Linked DNA regions of Homo sapiens: all the other regions are linked to region 1. Evidence: promoter capture Hi-C in 16 types of primary human blood cells and fetal thymus (Javierre and others, 2016). All regions are on one chromosome and are shown on one strand. Each heading gives the region's core, a stretch centred on a gene start or on the middle of the fragment in contact. The rest is flanking DNA. Distances are from core to core; before and after follow the strand shown.

Evidence for each region. Contacts are between HindIII fragments. The CHiCAGO score rates a contact against its expected background, and 5 or more counts as called.
Region 2: the fragment with the promoter of EMC10 here is called in contact with the fragment with the promoter of GPR32 in region 1 in 8 of 17 cell types (total B cells, naive CD4 T cells, naive B cells and 5 more); the score reaches 14.0 in total B cells.
Region 3: the fragment with the promoter of ASPDH here is called in contact with the fragment with the promoter of GPR32 in region 1 in 5 of 17 cell types (naive CD4 T cells, fetal thymus, naive B cells and 2 more); the score reaches 6.7 in naive CD4 T cells.

The regions. Positions count from the first base shown.
Region 1 is chr19:50,767,893-50,772,837 of GRCh38, forward strand. It overlaps GPR32 (G protein-coupled receptor 32), which reads left to right and starts at 2,572. Exons shown (of 1, transcript NM_001506.2): 1 at 2,572-3,840. The coding sequence starts at 2,709. The coding sequence ends at 3,779. The HindIII fragment of the contact is 17,473 bases long and covers 1-4,945 here.
Region 2 is chr19:50,474,283-50,479,227 of GRCh38, forward strand. EMC10 (ER membrane protein complex subunit 10) reads left to right here and starts at 2,225. Exons shown (of 7, transcript NM_206538.4): 1 at 2,225-2,376; 2 at 3,647-3,719; 3 at 4,675-4,784. The coding sequence starts at 2,263. It overlaps GARIN5A (golgi associated RAB2 interactor 5A), which reads right to left and starts at 2,566. Exons shown (of 5, transcript NM_001308429.2): 1 at 1,848-2,566; 2 at 1,551-1,651; 3 at 1,043-1,221. The coding sequence starts at 2,106. RefSeq lists enhancers at 1,863-2,363, 2,230-2,429. The HindIII fragment of the contact is 4,707 bases long and covers 600-4,945 here.
Region 3 is chr19:50,511,271-50,516,215 of GRCh38, forward strand. ASPDH (aspartate dehydrogenase domain containing) reads right to left here and starts at 2,643. Exons shown (of 7, transcript NM_001114598.2): 1 at 2,502-2,643; 2 at 2,002-2,146; 3 at 1,657-1,741; 4 at 1,391-1,540; 5 at 1,090-1,310; 6 at 866-1,020; 7 at 333-503. The coding sequence starts at 2,553. The coding sequence ends at 460. It overlaps LOC124904747 (a long non-coding RNA gene), which reads left to right and starts at 148. Exons shown (of 3, transcript XR_007067300.1): 1 at 148-201. RefSeq lists enhancers at 103-222, 526-1,115. The HindIII fragment of the contact is 8,504 bases long and covers 956-4,945 here.

The sequences.
Region 1 (4,945 bases), core at 1,322-3,821:
CACCTCTCAGCCTCCCAAAGTGCTGGGATTACAGGCATGAGCCACTGAGCATGGACAAATGTTACATTCTTATCGGGGTCTTCCCTGACCACCCTGTTTAATGTACCAGTGGCCCCTTTCTGTCTCATCCTTCACATTCCCAGTTGTCCTTATCTTGATTTTTTTTTTTTTTTTTTTTTTTTGGTGACAGAGACTCACTCTGTCACCCAGGCTGGAGTGCAGTGGCCTGATCTCGGCTCACCACAACCTCCAGCTTCCCAGATTCAAGCGATTCTCCTGCCTCAGCCTCCCAAATGCCTGCGATCACAGGTGTGTGCCACCGCACCTGGCTAATTTTTTTATTTTTATTAGTGACGGGGTTTTGCCTTGTTGGCCAGGCTGGTCTCGAACTCCTGACTTCAAGTGATCTGCTCACCTCGGCCTCCCAGTGTGCTGGGATTACGGATGTGAACCACTGCGCTTGGCCTTACCTTGATCTTTTTCTAAAGAAAACATTTCATGATCTTCATTTCTTCCTGTCAATATGTGTCACCATGTGATATTAACTCCTTTCAGCCTAGAGGACTTACTTCCTTAAGCAATTCCTGCGGTCTGTAGGCCATATATTATTTCAGATCTGGCTTATCTGAAAATGCCCTTTTTTCACTTTCATTTTTGAAAGATATTTTCACAGAATATAAAATTCTGGATTGACAGACTTTTCTGCTGCCAATTTTTTCAAATAGTGGAGTAATTTTTAATATTTTGTCCAGATTTTAATTTTTTTTTTGTCTGTGGCACCATTTGTCTGACAAAGTTACTCTGACATTATCCAAAGTTAAAAGAACCTCCATCTCATTATTTTTACTTTATTTTTATTGAGACAGGGTCTCGCTTTATCACCCAGGCTGAAGTGAAATGGCGTGACCATGGCTCATTGCAGCCTCGAATTCCAGGGCTCAAGTGACCCTCGTGTCTCAGTCTCCCAATTTGCTGGGACTACAGGCACGTGCCACCATACCTGACTAATTTTTTTTTTTTTTTTTTTTGAGACAGAGTCTTGCTCTGTTGCCTGGGCTGGAATGAAGTGGCACGATCTTGGCTCACTGCAGCCCCTGCCTCCCAGGTTCAAGGGACTCTCCTGCCTCAGCCTTCAGAGTAGCTGGGATTACAGGCACGCACCACCAAGCCTGGCTAATTTTTGTATTTTTAGTAGAGACAGGCTTTTGCCATGTTGGCCAGGCTGGTCTCGAACTCCTGAACTTAAGTGATCCACCAGCCTCAGCCTCCCAAAGTGCTGGGATTACAGGAATGAGCCACTACGCCCATCTCACGGCTAATTTTTAAATTTTATTTTATTTTTATTTTTTTGAGACGGAGTTTCGCTCTCGTTACCCAGGCTGGAGTGCAGTGGCGCGATCTTGATTCACTGCAACCTCCGCCTCCCAAGTTTAAGTGATTCTTCAGCCTCATGAGTAGCTGGGATTACAGGTGGCTGCCACCACACCCAGCTAATGTTTTTTGTATTTTTAGTAGAGACGGGGTTTCGCCATGCTGGGCAGGCTGATCTCGAACTCCTGACCTCAGGTGATCCGCCTACCTCAGCCTCCCAAAGTGCTGGGATTACAGGCGTGAGCCACTGTGCATGGCCACAAAAACTTGTAATTATTTATTTTTTGTAGAGACGGTCTCACTATGTTGCCCACCTTGGTTTGGAACTCCTGGCTTCAAGCAATCCTTCTGCCTCAGCCTCCCAAAGTGTTGTGATTACAAGCATGAGCCACCACACCTGGCCCCTCCATTTCATTTATTATTTTTCCATAACACTTGTAGTCTTCTAAAGCAGTATATCATGAAGTAAATTTATTATATGTATTACACCTGACATCTCTCACTGGGATGTAAGTTCCATGAGGGCTTGTTTTGTTACACGAGTTATGTCCAGTACTTAGAACAATATTATAGTGTCCAGTGAGCCGAGATCGTGCCATTGCACTGCAGCCTGGGTGACATAAGGAGACTCTGTCTCAAAAAAAAAAAAAAAAAAAGAACAATATTATTGTGTCATAAAAAGCATTCAGGCTGGGCTCAATGGCTCACACTTGTAATCCCAGCACTTTGGGAGGCTGAGGTGGGAGGATCACTTGAAGCCAGGAGTTCAAGACCAGCCTGGGCAACACAGCAAAACCCCATCTCTACAAAAAAGAATTTAAGGCCTGGCAGAGTGGCTCACACCTATAATCCCAGCACTTTGGGAGGCTGGTGGACGGGTCACGAGGTCAGTAGTTCAAGACCAGCCTGGCCAACATGGTAAAACCCTGTCTCTACTAAAAACAGAAAAATTAGCCAGGTGTGGTGGCATGTGCCTGTAGTTCCAGCTACTTGGGAGGCTGAGGCAGGAAAATTGCTTGAACCTTGGAGGTGGAGGTTGCAGTGAGCCGAGATCATACCATTGCACTACAGCCTGGGTGACAGAGAGAGCAAGACTCTGTGTCAAAAAAAAAAAAAAAAAAAAAAGGTAAAAAAATTAGCCAGGCATGGTGGTAAGTGCCTGTAGTCCCAGCTACTCCAGGAGGCTGAGGGGGGAGGATCTCTTGAGCCTAGGAGGTGGAGGCTGCAGTGATCTGTGATTGTACCTTTGCACTCCAGCCTGGGTGACAGAGCATGACGCTGTCTCTAAAAGAATAATAATAATAAGCATTCCATAAAAATTATGGAATGGAGAAATCATGAATGGGGTCTCGGAGGGGACCAGAGGCTGCAGTGACAGGCAACCTGGGGTCCTGACACGTGATCGCTCTTGTTCCAGGAAGATGAACTCTTCCGGATGCCTGTCTGAGGAGGTGGGGTCCCTCCGCCCACTGACTGTGGTTATCCTGTCTGCGTCCATTGTCGTCGGAGTGCTGGGCAATGGGCTGGTGCTGTGGATGACTGTCTTCCGTATGGCACGCACGGTCTCCACCGTCTGCTTCTTCCACCTGGCCCTTGCCGATTTCATGCTCTCACTGTCTCTGCCCATTGCCATGTACTATATTGTCTCCAGGCAGTGGCTCCTCGGAGAGTGGGCCTGCAAACTCTACATCACCTTTGTGTTCCTCAGCTACTTTGCCAGTAACTGCCTCCTTGTCTTCATCTCTGTGGACCGTTGCATCTCTGTCCTCTACCCCGTCTGGGCCCTGAACCACCGCACTGTGCAGCGGGCGAGCTGGCTGGCCTTTGGGGTGTGGCTCCTGGCCGCCGCCTTGTGCTCTGCGCACCTGAAATTCCGGACAACCAGAAAATGGAATGGCTGTACGCACTGCTACTTGGCGTTCAACTCTGACAATGAGACTGCCCAGATTTGGATTGAAGGGGTCGTGGAGGGACACATTATAGGGACCATTGGCCACTTCCTGCTGGGCTTCCTGGGGCCCTTAGCAATCATAGGCACCTGCGCCCACCTCATCCGGGCCAAGCTCTTGCGGGAGGGCTGGGTCCATGCCAACCGGCCCAAGAGGCTGCTGCTGGTGCTGGTGAGCGCTTTCTTTATCTTCTGGTCCCCGTTTAACGTGGTGCTGTTGGTCCATCTGTGGCGACGGGTGATGCTCAAGGAAATCTACCACCCCCGGATGCTGCTCATCCTCCAGGCTAGCTTTGCCTTGGGCTGTGTCAACAGCAGCCTCAACCCCTTCCTCTACGTCTTCGTTGGCAGAGATTTCCAAGAAAAGTTTTTCCAGTCTTTGACTTCTGCCCTGGCGAGGGCGTTTGGAGAGGAGGAGTTTCTGTCATCCTGTCCCCGTGGCAACGCCCCCCGGGAATGATGGAAGACTTCAGCTGGAAGCTGGAAGCCGTCCTTCTTAGTTTGCTTGTGGCCTCTTACCTTGACTGGCTTCTAAAACCCTGCCAAATCCTGCCTCTTCTTTCAGGAAGTCTTCCAGCAACCCCTCATCTAAAGCTCTGTGGTAGAGACAGCTACTTACTCCCCAGTGTCCATTCTTCCCCGCCCCCCCCCCCTTTTTTTTTTGAGATAGAGTCTTGCTCTGTCACCAGGCTGGACTGCAGTGGCGCGATCTCGGCTCACTGCAACCTCTGACTTTCTGGTTCAAGCAATTCTGCCTCAGCCTCCCGAGTAGCTGGGATTACAGGCACGTGCCACCACGCCCAGATAATTTTTGTATATTTTTTAGTAGAGACGGGGTTTAACCACGTTGGCCAGGATGGTCTCAATCTCCTGACCTTGTGATCCGCCTGCCTCGGCCTCCCAAAGGGCTAGGATTACAGGCGTGAGCCACTGCACCTGGCCCATTCTTTCCCTCTCTTTTTCTTTTTTTTAAAAATTTTTTAAAGACAGGGTCTGATTTTGTCACCCAGGCTGGAGCGCAGTGGCAAAATCTCGGCTCACTGCAGCCTTGACCTTCAGGGCTCAAGCCATTCTCCTGCCTCAGGACTCCCCACGCCCCACCCCCCACCTCCCCTCACCCTGCCTAGTACCTGGGACTATAGGCATGTGCTACCTGGGTAATTTGTAGACACGGGGTTTCATCATGTTGCCCAGAGTGGTCTCAAACTCCTGAGTTCAAGTGATCCTCCAGCCTCGGCTCCCAAAACTACTGGGATTACAGGTGTGAGCCACAGCACCTGGCCTCCCCTTTTTTGGTAGTAAAACTCCTGTGTTCTAATGAGGCACGGTGCTTAACTAGAAAAAAGGAAAGACTACATTTCCCAGTATCCTTTGCATGTAGGTACAACCATGTGACTGCTTTCTGACCAATAGGATGTAAGAGGCAGCAATCAATGTAACTTCCTTCAAGGGCCCCTTAAATGGAAGGGGTCTGCCCTCCATTTCCCCATTTCCCCCTTTCTATTGTCCGGAATGCAGATGTATCAGTTACCTTTTGCTGTGTAACAAAAACCTTCCATGTTTAGAGGCTTAAAAATATAAGTTTTTTTTTTTTTTCTGATAGGGTCTTGCTCTGTTGCTCAGGCT
Region 2 (4,945 bases), core at 975-3,474, 290 kb before region 1:
AATTCTCCTGCCTCAGCCTCCCGAGTAGCTGGGATTACCGGCGCCCGCCACCACACCTGGCTAATTTTTTTTTTTTTTTTTGAGATGGAGTCTCGCTCTGTCGCCCAGGCTGGAGTGCAGTGGCGCAATCTCAGCTCACTGCAACCTCCGCCTCCTGGGTTCACGCCATTCTCCTGCCTCAGCCTCCCGAGTAGCTGGGACTACAGGCGCTCACCACCACGCCCGACTAATTTTTTGTATTTTTAGTAGAGACGGGGTTTCACTGTGTTAGCCAGGATGGTCTCGTTCTCTTGACCTCGTGATCCACCCACCTCAGCCTCCCAAAGTGCTGGGATTACAAGCGTGAGCCACCGCACCCGGCCCTGGCTAATTTTTTGTATTTCTGGTAGAGACAGGGTTTTGCTATGTTGGCCAGACCGGTCTCAAATTCCTGGCCTCAAATGATCTGCCTGCCTTGGCCTCCCAAAGTGCTGGGATTACAGGTGTGGGCCACCGCACCCGATCTGCATTACTTTTTCAATGAAAAAATATGACGTAAAGGGGCAGTGTGGAGTGAGGCACAGGAGGGCTCAAGAACCATGAGATCCACAATCATGACAAGCTTGGCATTCCAATCCTGGCCCACTCTGGAGCCACAGTGGGACCCTGGGCAACTGGCTCCCGGCTCTCTGAGCCTCAGTTTAGCTCTTTGGCGGATGGGGCTAAGGGACCCCACCATGTGAAGATATGAGGTCAGAGGTGAGATCGTATGCGCGGCCTAGGGGCGTCTGGCATGAGCAGGCCCTGCGGAAATGATCATTCTCCTGACCGCTGCTGGGGCATGGCTGAGGACTGTCCCCTTCAGGTCTGTCTAATCTCTGATTTCTGGCCCCTGAGGGCTGCTCTGTCCTTGTTCTCCCGGGTAGATGGCAGCTCAGGGAGGGCCGGTAGCACTGCCAGCTCCTGGCCCTGGGGGTGGTCTGGACGAGGGGAGGTACTGCTGGGGGCTCAGGTGCCTGGAGCTGAGGGAGGAAGGGGTCTCGGCTGAGGTGGGGGCAGTTACCCGAAGAGTTGCAGGTGTCCGTTCTCCTTGGCAGGGCCGGCCAGAAGCAATAGGTCCGGGAGCTCCAGGGCTGGACTGGAGGCTGCCACCCCCATGGTGACCTCGTTGGCAACTTCTCCCAACCGAGTCACCTGGGGCCAGAGGTCAGAGGTCGGGGCAGGATAGATGTCGGGGCAGAACTGAGGAGGGATCAGAGGTTAGGAATCTTGGTAGGGGAAAAGGTCATGAACCAGGTGAGTTGAAAATCAGGCTGGGGGCCAGATATCTTGAAATTAAAGTTCAAGAATCATATGGGTGTGAAGTCAGGGAAACTGAGGCAAGGGAGTTACAGGCCAGGGTTCACAAAGAATCTAGAGAACTAGAAGTATGGGGTGTCAGAGATCACATAGGAGTTGGGAGTCGGGAATCCCACGAGATGGACGTTATGGGGGAGCAGGGGCTTTCCAAGTCAGGAGGAGGTCGAGGGGCAGGCCGAGGCTGGGGATGAGGGGGTTCTGGGGCTCCCTACCTGTACGAAGTTGCTCTCAAAGATGGGGAAGTCCCGAAACTGGTCGAATTCGCCGCTCTGGAGGTAGCGTTGGAGCCGTCTGGGACGGCCCGTGGGAGAGGCTGCAACCAGGAGGCATTTTACCAGGACGAAGTCTGGGGGTCGATCCTGGGAGGCTGTGCCTGGCTTCCCAACTGAGAGGGCCCGGCACAGCCCCGCGGAGAGGACGGGGTATCAGATGCCCCCGAATTGCCGGCCCCATCCTACTTGGTTCCTTCACCAGGTCCAACCCCTCTAGGCCTGGCTCCCCTCTCTCACCTGCCATCCCACCTGGTTCCACCTCGCCAGCTCCACCCAGGGCCGGCTTAGGGCCGCGATCCCGCCTCATTGCAATGTCCCCGTCCGACGGGAGCGGACGGAGGAGCAGAGGGAGAAAGCGAGGGGGCGGGACTACGCGCACTGTGACGTCATGATGCGGAGCGGGCTTTATGACGTCACACAAGAGCGGGCTCCTGATTTGTGATGACGTCCCTGGAGGGGGCGGCTCCTGGAGATCAGGCCAAAGGGGCGGCCCCATCCTGCTGACGTCAGGCCCCAGGTGCGGACGGGTGCCAGTGCGCAGGTGCCGGGGCCCAGCGCAGGCGCACGGGCGTCAGGATGCGGCCTGTTCCTCCCGGCGTGCTCCGCGGCTCTTGGCTCACAGCCGTCCCTTCGCTGGTGGGAAGAAGCCGAGATGGCGGCAGCCAGCGCTGGGGCAACCCGGCTGCTCCTGCTCTTGCTGATGGCGGTAGCAGCGCCCAGTCGAGCCCGGGGCAGCGGCTGCCGGGCCGGGACTGGTGCGCGAGGGGTGAGTGCTCTTTAGCTGTGCATAGCGGGCGCGGTCTACGGATGTCGCAGGTCTTGGGTCTTTAGGTGAGTTACAGACGGAAGGAGGCTGCGCAGGGCTGAGAGGGAAGAGGTGGGAGATCCCTGGAAAGCCAGGCCTCAGTCACGCACGCGCAGGAGGGGCCTCGCCAGTGCACCGGGTTGCAAGGACTGGGTGGGAGGACAAGCGCACCTGTCGGAAGGCTCTGGCTCGGGAATATGTATGAGGGGGCGGGGCTGGGGGTGTGGAATCTTGGAGAATCCGACGTCCGGGCGGTTGAAATGAAAGAGGCAAGGTGAAGCCGGGCGCGGTGGCTCATCTGTCATCCCAACGCTTAGGGAGGCCGAGGCGGGAGGATTGCTCTAGGCCAGGAGTTCAAGACCAGCCTGGGCAACATAGCGAGCCCTGTCTCTACAAAAAATACTAAAAAAAAAAAAAAAATTAGGCCGGTCGCGGTGGCTCATGCTTGTAATCCCAGCACTTCGGGAAGCCGAGGCGGGCGGACCACTTGAAGTCAGGAGTTCAAGACCAGCCTGCTCAAAATGGTGAAACCCCGTCTCTACTAAAAACACAAAAATTAGCTGGATGTGGTGGCAGGTGCCTGTAATTCCAACTACTCGGGAGGCTGAGGCAGGAGAATCGCTTGAACCCAGGAGGCAGAGGTTGCAGGGAGCTGAGATCACGCTACTGCACTCCAGCCTGGGCGACTGAGCGAGACCCTGTCTCAGAAAAAGAAAATAAGGCGTGGGAGGGGGCTCTTGAGGAAGTGGAGATGAGTTTTGTCTCCTAAATATGCGTGAGTATGCAAGTTTGGAGGTTGGAGAAAAGGAAAGCATGAATCTTGAATGTGCTTAATAGGGACTGAACTCAGGCTGCATCTTGGCTATTGGGCTGTCAGGTGATAAGGAGGCCATTTGAATATTAGCATGAAAAAGAAGGCTTGGGAGAGGGAGAGTGTCATTTAACTCATGAGTATTTGTGGCGCAAGGCTTGGAAGTGACCTTGGGATAGTTGCTTTGGCAATGAGGTTAGGCATGTTTGTAGGGTCTGGTTTTCTGGGGGTGAGGGAGTGCAGAGTATGAATATTCATGAAATGGGTGGTTTCTAGTGAAATAAAGGCAAGCAGCAGTGATTAACTTGAAGATAAGGCTCCTCCCTCAGCCCACCAGTCTGTCTGTCCTGGGTTCTGTGGGTGACTACTATGCTGAGGGCTTGGGTGGTCCTCACCTGGGGCCTTCTGTGTCCTCTGCAGGCTGGGGCGGAAGGTCGAGAGGGCGAGGCCTGTGGCACGGTGGGGCTGCTGCTGGAGCACTCATTTGAGATCGGTGAGTCAGGCAACGTCCTCTCCTAGACACTTAACATTGGTGCCCTGAGAAGTCAAGACTTGGAGTCTGGGTGCCTCCCGTCGTATGACATTTACTAACAACCATTTACTAACAGATTTGCCTCAGGTTAGGGGAAAGTGGGACATGAAAGAAGAGAAACACTCTTTAAATGCCCCCTTGCCTGTGAGACAAACCTCAGTTTTTAAAAGGTCATCACAGCAGTAATAATTTCAGAGCGGCTTTCCTGATCAGTCGCCACGTGCCCAGCATTAGCGGTTCCACGCTTTGCAAGTATTAACTCAGATGTCCTCACAGCAGCCATGTGAGGTGGTAGGTATTCGTGTCAGCCCCTTTTTCCAGAAGAGGAAACGGGCTCAGAGTAGGCACCACACAAGGTCTCATCGTGAGTGAGTGGCAGAGCAGGGGCCAGCTTCAAACCCAAACTTAAATTGCCATGATGCAGGTGTCCAGGTTCCCAGAGCTGGACGTCAGTGCTGCCCAGAGTGTAGTAATCGAGTCTGAGGCCCCGAACCTGAGGGCACAAACCCTGAAGCTGGTGCCCCTCTGCAAACCCTGGCATCTGCTCAGTGAACAGCTCCCCTGATTCTGACATGGCCAGGTAGTTGGGAATTCCTGAACTCCACAGCCTCCGTATTTTGCAGTTGGGGAAGCTGAGGCTCAGAGAGGTTGTGTGGCTATCCCTGGGTCACCTGGTGAGGCAGAGGCAGGATTTGGGAGCTGTGGGGTTCATGCATCTGCTACGGGTTGCCTTGTGAGGTGGAACATGGTGGAGGTGTCCCCACTTTGCAGATAGCAAAATGGGGGCCCAGATGGGGAGGGAACCTGGTCACTCGGGTGGAGGCCAGGCCAAAATTTGAAGCTGGACCTCCTGGCCCCTGCCTGGGTTGAAGGGTGGGCGGGGGAGGGGGCGTCTCTGAACCTGAGCTCCTCACAGATGACAGTGCCAACTTCCGGAAGCGGGGCTCACTGCTCTGGAACCAGCAGGATGGTACCTTGTCCCTGTCACAGCGGCAGCTCAGCGAGGAGGAGCGGGGCCGACTCCGGGTGAGGTGGGGCCCTCAGGGCTGGGTGTGGATGGGGATGGAGGGTTTCCAGCTGTCTCTTCAGCCACCCCCTGCTGGTCCCCAGCAGCCTTCCCTCCAGGCCCAGGTGGGCTCCCAGCACCACCTGCCACTCTCAGCCTCTGTCCTCAATGACTGCCCCTG
Region 3 (4,945 bases), core at 1,393-3,892, 260 kb before region 1:
CTCCCGTGGGGCCCCGCGGGACTCCTGCTCCACACGGAACGCCCGGGCCGCGTGGCCCTGAAGTCGGCCGTCGGGCCTAGGAAATGCCGCACTACAACTTCCGTCGGGCTCCGCGGCAGGTCCCGGAAGTGCGCCTCAGAGGCCCTTCTTTCGCATACGGCCGCGCCCACTACTGCTCAGAGATTCTAGGAAACTTAGTAGGTAGGCTCTCGCGATAGCTTCCTGGCGCCGCGCTCTCATGGGTGCTCGCCCCCGGCGATGGCGTCATGCGCGGTGCGCAGACGCAGCGTGACGTCACACAAGGGAAAGGGATCAGAGACGCCAGGCGGTGCGGGGGGAGGCAGCGGTGATCTTTACTGAGTCAGAAGGGAGACCCTGGGGAAGTGGGGCAGGGCAGGGGTGGGATGGTGGTGGTGAGAGGCCAGGCAGATGATCTTGTCTCGGGAGGGAGGAGGCTTCTCAGCAGAGATGGATCCCCGGCCTGGAGGGGAGCTGGCAGCAGGCTGCGGGGAGAGGGGAATGAGCGAATGAGACAGAGGAGAGATGAGGAGACAGACGCCTGGGGGAGGCAGTGGTGGGAGGAGGGGACAGGGCAGGGGGGCGGTGGAGGAAGACCCGGAGAGAGCGGGACAGAGCCCTGGGGGTGGACAGAGACAGAGAGAGTCTCGATCAGAGGCGGGCACAAATGGAGACATCTACAGTGCCAGGATTCAAAGTCATGGAGAGAGGTTAAGGAAATAAAGGTCAGAAAGAAAGAAAGGTCAACAAATACAGAACCAGAACTGCAGAACTAGTGAGAGCCCGGGACCCCCAAGCTCTGCAGAACACAGGAGCCCAGGGCCGGGGGAGAGGGGCCTGGCCGCACCCAGGAGGCTCTGCCAGAAGGCCGTGACGGTGGCGGAGCCGGTGACCGCGCCTGGCTCGGCAGGGTTCTCTCTGCGGGTGTGCACAGCAAAGCTTCGGCCCGTGGGGCCCCGGGGTCCGCTCAGCTCTACATCCACCACGTGCATGTCCGTGAGGCTGGGACAAGAGGGGCAGTCAGTCTGGAGAGCCTGGACTCAGCCCAACACCCTGCTTAGCTCTGCTCACCTGGTATCAGCCACGAGCACCCCAATCACCCCATCGAAGCCCAGGCTGGGGGCAGCCAGGGCAGCCGCCGCCATGGTGTTGGAATTTCGCGGGGCAAAGGGGCAGAGCCCACGGACAGGGCCTTCGTAGAGCACAGTGCAAGGCCCAGGGCTGTGGGCTGCAGCCAGGGGTCCCTCAAGCCGGAAGCCATCGGGGTGTGTGGCCATGGTGACACGAAGGCTCTGGAAGCAAGAGCCCGGGTTAGGGGGAGTGGGGTCTTTGCAGGCCTCCCCTGGTTCCTGGGGAGCCCAGCAGGCCTCACCCGGAGGCCCCCAGCTGCATCCAATCTCCTGATGTCCTCAGCGCCCCACAGGGCCCCTCGGGCCACAAACACGGCGTGGTCCCAGTGCTGTGAGGCCTCCAAGAGCTGCCGCTCTGTGGTCTGGTCACTTAGAGCTGAGGGGGACCCCACCTGGGGTGGATGAAGGAGGGGAGGGTTGAGGTCAGGGAAGGATATCCACTTCAGGGTGGGGTGAGACCAAGACAGAAGGGGCAGGGCTCTGCGTAAATGGTTGGGGTGGGGCTTACCAGGAGATTGGCATGGCGCAGGATTTGTGCCCCAGATTCATGGATTATTTTGGGATGGGCCACTTCCACAACCAGATCAGGGCGCCTGGGAGAGGGGAAAGAGGGCGGAGGGTCTTGGAGAGGTATTAGGCCTCTTCTCCCCAAGGTTCCCTCCGAGTCTACTGAGGGCTGCCCTTCTTCTCCCTGACCTGGGAGGCGAAATGAGATGAATGGGTTCGTCCTGTTTCACATTTGCTTGAACCAAGGCCCAGAGAGGGTCAGGGAACCCCTGAGATCACACAGTGGCTAAGAGAGCCAGGACAGGAGCTTCAGGGAGCTCCACTCTCCCATGGCAAGGTCACTGACCTTTCCCCAAGGGCAGCAAGGTTCTGGAGCTGCAGGGAAGGGGGCACGCTCCCTGCCATTCGTCCTGGGTCACGATTCCAGACAAAAACAAGTTCTAGGCCAAGTTCTGGTCCCTGAGCCAAGAGGCGGGAGACGAGGGACTGTCCTGGGGAGAGGGAAAGGAGAGGGCTAGAGATCCAGAGAGAGGGGGACAGAGACCCAGAGAGAGAGGAGGTGGGGACAGAGACCCAGAGAGAGAGGAGGTGGGGACAGACTCAGATTGCGGGGTAGGGAGACAGAGATGGGGGCAGGGCAGAGACACAGTGGGGTGGACAGAGGCCCAGAGAGAAGGGAGACAGAGACGGAGAGGACAGAGACCTGGGGTGGGGGTGCAGTGGGCAGACCCAGAGACACAGCCAGGGGCAGATAGAGAGAGAAAAAAGTGTTTGTGGAGGGCAGAGAGTCTTGGGAGCTTTAGGAAGGGGTTTGGGGAAGGAGGCCAAGGATGGTCAGGGACTCACCGAGGCGGCCATAGCCCACCACGCCCACCCTCCACGGGCCCCTGTCGGCCATGGCCCTGAGTGCGGTGTCTGGGGCCTGGCTCCCTGGGCTGCTCGCTGCCCGCTGCACAAGGCCTGGGCAGCCGCTGCTCTTTGGACATCTGACCCTTGAGCCTCTGGGCTCAGTCTTCCCCCTTCCCCGCAGGCCCAGCGTGGGGGCGTGGGCCTGCGGGAGTGGAGGCGGGAGAACCCTTCCCTGTGCTCTGTCCACTTTCCCGGGTCCAGCACAGTGAGCATGGTGACCGGGGGTTCTGGGAACCCTGCGTGCCCCCCTTTCCCCTGCAGCACACCCTCTTTCTCCCTGCTGATGTGGAAAGTTTCCTCTGCAGTCCCCTGCCCCCTCTCTGGCCGGCCAGGTTGTCATGGAAACTGCATCTTGCTTTGGGTTGGGAGAAGAGATGGTGACAGGGACTCTGGGCTCTGTCTGTCCCCTCGTGCTCACCTCTCCTCCTTGTCCTCAGGCGGCTAAGGTCTGAGGGAGGCTTCAGCCTGGCCGTGGCCCTAGCCCTCCCAGAGGCAGCGGGAGCCCTGGTTGTGGCTTCTCCTCAATGTGCCCTTGCCTCAGCGGGTCCAACCTCCCTAGCCCCGCTGCGCAGCACGGGTCCCCTTCCCACAGCCTCCGCCCCTGTCCACAGCCTCCCTCCGCTCTGATCATCCTTCAGTTCACCTTGACTTGCTACCTTTCACTCTGTCCCCCATCGTGCCACCAGCTGCCTCCAGTGTGACGTTCTCGCTCCCACGTCCGTCCCTCCCGTTCCCCAGCTCGCGTCAGCCCAGGAGAAGCCTTCGAGGCCTGGAGAGGCCAAGTGCCCCCAACATGAGCCCCAGCCTCTGTGCCTTGAGGGTGCCTGGCATCGGAAATGGCGCAGGCTGCGGCAGCGCAGGCTCCCTGCCCCCAGCCACCACCTGGTACCCGCTGCAGTGTTTCCATGGCAACCAGGATTGGCGCTGGAAGGAGGCTGGAGAGAAAGAGAGCGTGAACGGGAGCATGGGGTGGGGGGGGCGGGCACTGGGTGGCGAGAGCCCCAAGTTGACGGGAGGAGAGAGGAGACAGACGCGGGCAGACAGAGAGGGGCCAAGACCCCGACGTGGCACCCAAAGGCTGCCGCTGCTGATAAGGGAGGAATTGGCTTCCAGAGCCAGGAGCCCCCGGTGTGGGAGAGATGAGATGCCTGGGTGTAGACAGAGCCAGGAAGGGGGCAGGGGCCAGGCACCTCACGGAAGTGGGGGGCCTCCCGCCATCTCTACCTTCTGACTCCTGCTGGGGCCTGAGTGTCCCCATAGTGCCCATAGCTGCCGTGTACGGGGTACAGCCTGGGCCACTACGAGGGGAGAAGGGGGCTGGGCGCAGGCCTGTGTGTCCTCAGGGCTGTGTCCCCGAAGCCACCTCAGCGTGGGAAAGCACTGGAAGGCCCTGCATGGCTCCGTCCCTCCCTCTGCCTCCCCCAGCAGCGTGAGATGGCAGCCCTGGCCAGCCCCAGCCCTCCAGGGCCTGCAACTCGGGCACCTTGACCCCCCAAGAGACATCACCACCCCCTCCCCCAACCCACCCAACAGCTGCCCACTGTGCCAGCAACCCCCCAGCCAGGCCCGCTCAGGGTTTGCTCCCTGCCCTCCCAGGGCTCTGCTCCTGCCCTTCTGAGTGGCACTGTGGTGCCCCTGCCGCCCCAGGCCCACCCGATCCGGCCCTCCAGCCTCCCACTGAACCGGCCAGAAATACAGCTGCTGTGCCCCAGAGGCCGCAGGCCCAGCCTCCCGCTTGGCCTCCCTCCCCTTCGGCACCCCGTCCTCTGGAGCAGCCTTGAGGGGGTCTGCAGTGGAGAGACACACTCTGGATTGGGCCCTGTTGTGGGTTGAATTGTCACCCAGAAAGGGAAGCGCAGAAGTCCTGACCTCCAGGGCCTCAGAATGGGACCTTATTTGGGAATTGGGTTTTTGCCAAGGATGGAGCTGAGGTTATACTGGAGGTGGAGGCTCCTGGTCCAGTCTGACCTCTGTCCTTGTAAGAGGGGAGGTTAGGCAGGCTGCAGTGGCCCACACCTATAGTCCCGACACTTTGGGAGGCTGAGGCAGGTGGATCACTTGAGGTCAGAAGTTCGAGACCAGCCTGGCCAACATGGTGAAACCCCGTCTCTACTAAAAATACAAAAATTAGCTGGGTGTGGTGGTAGTCGCGTGTAATCCTAGCTACTCAGGGGGCTGAGGGAGGAGATTCGCTTGAACCTGGGAGGCAGAGGCTTCAGTGAGCTGAAATTGTGCCACTGCACTCCAGCCTGGACAACAGAGCAAGACTCTGTCTCAAAAACAAAGAAACAAACAAAGAAAACGGTCAGGCGCGGTGGCTCATGCCTGTAATCCGAGCACTTTGAGAGGCTGAGGTGAGTGGATCACCTGAGGTTAGGAGT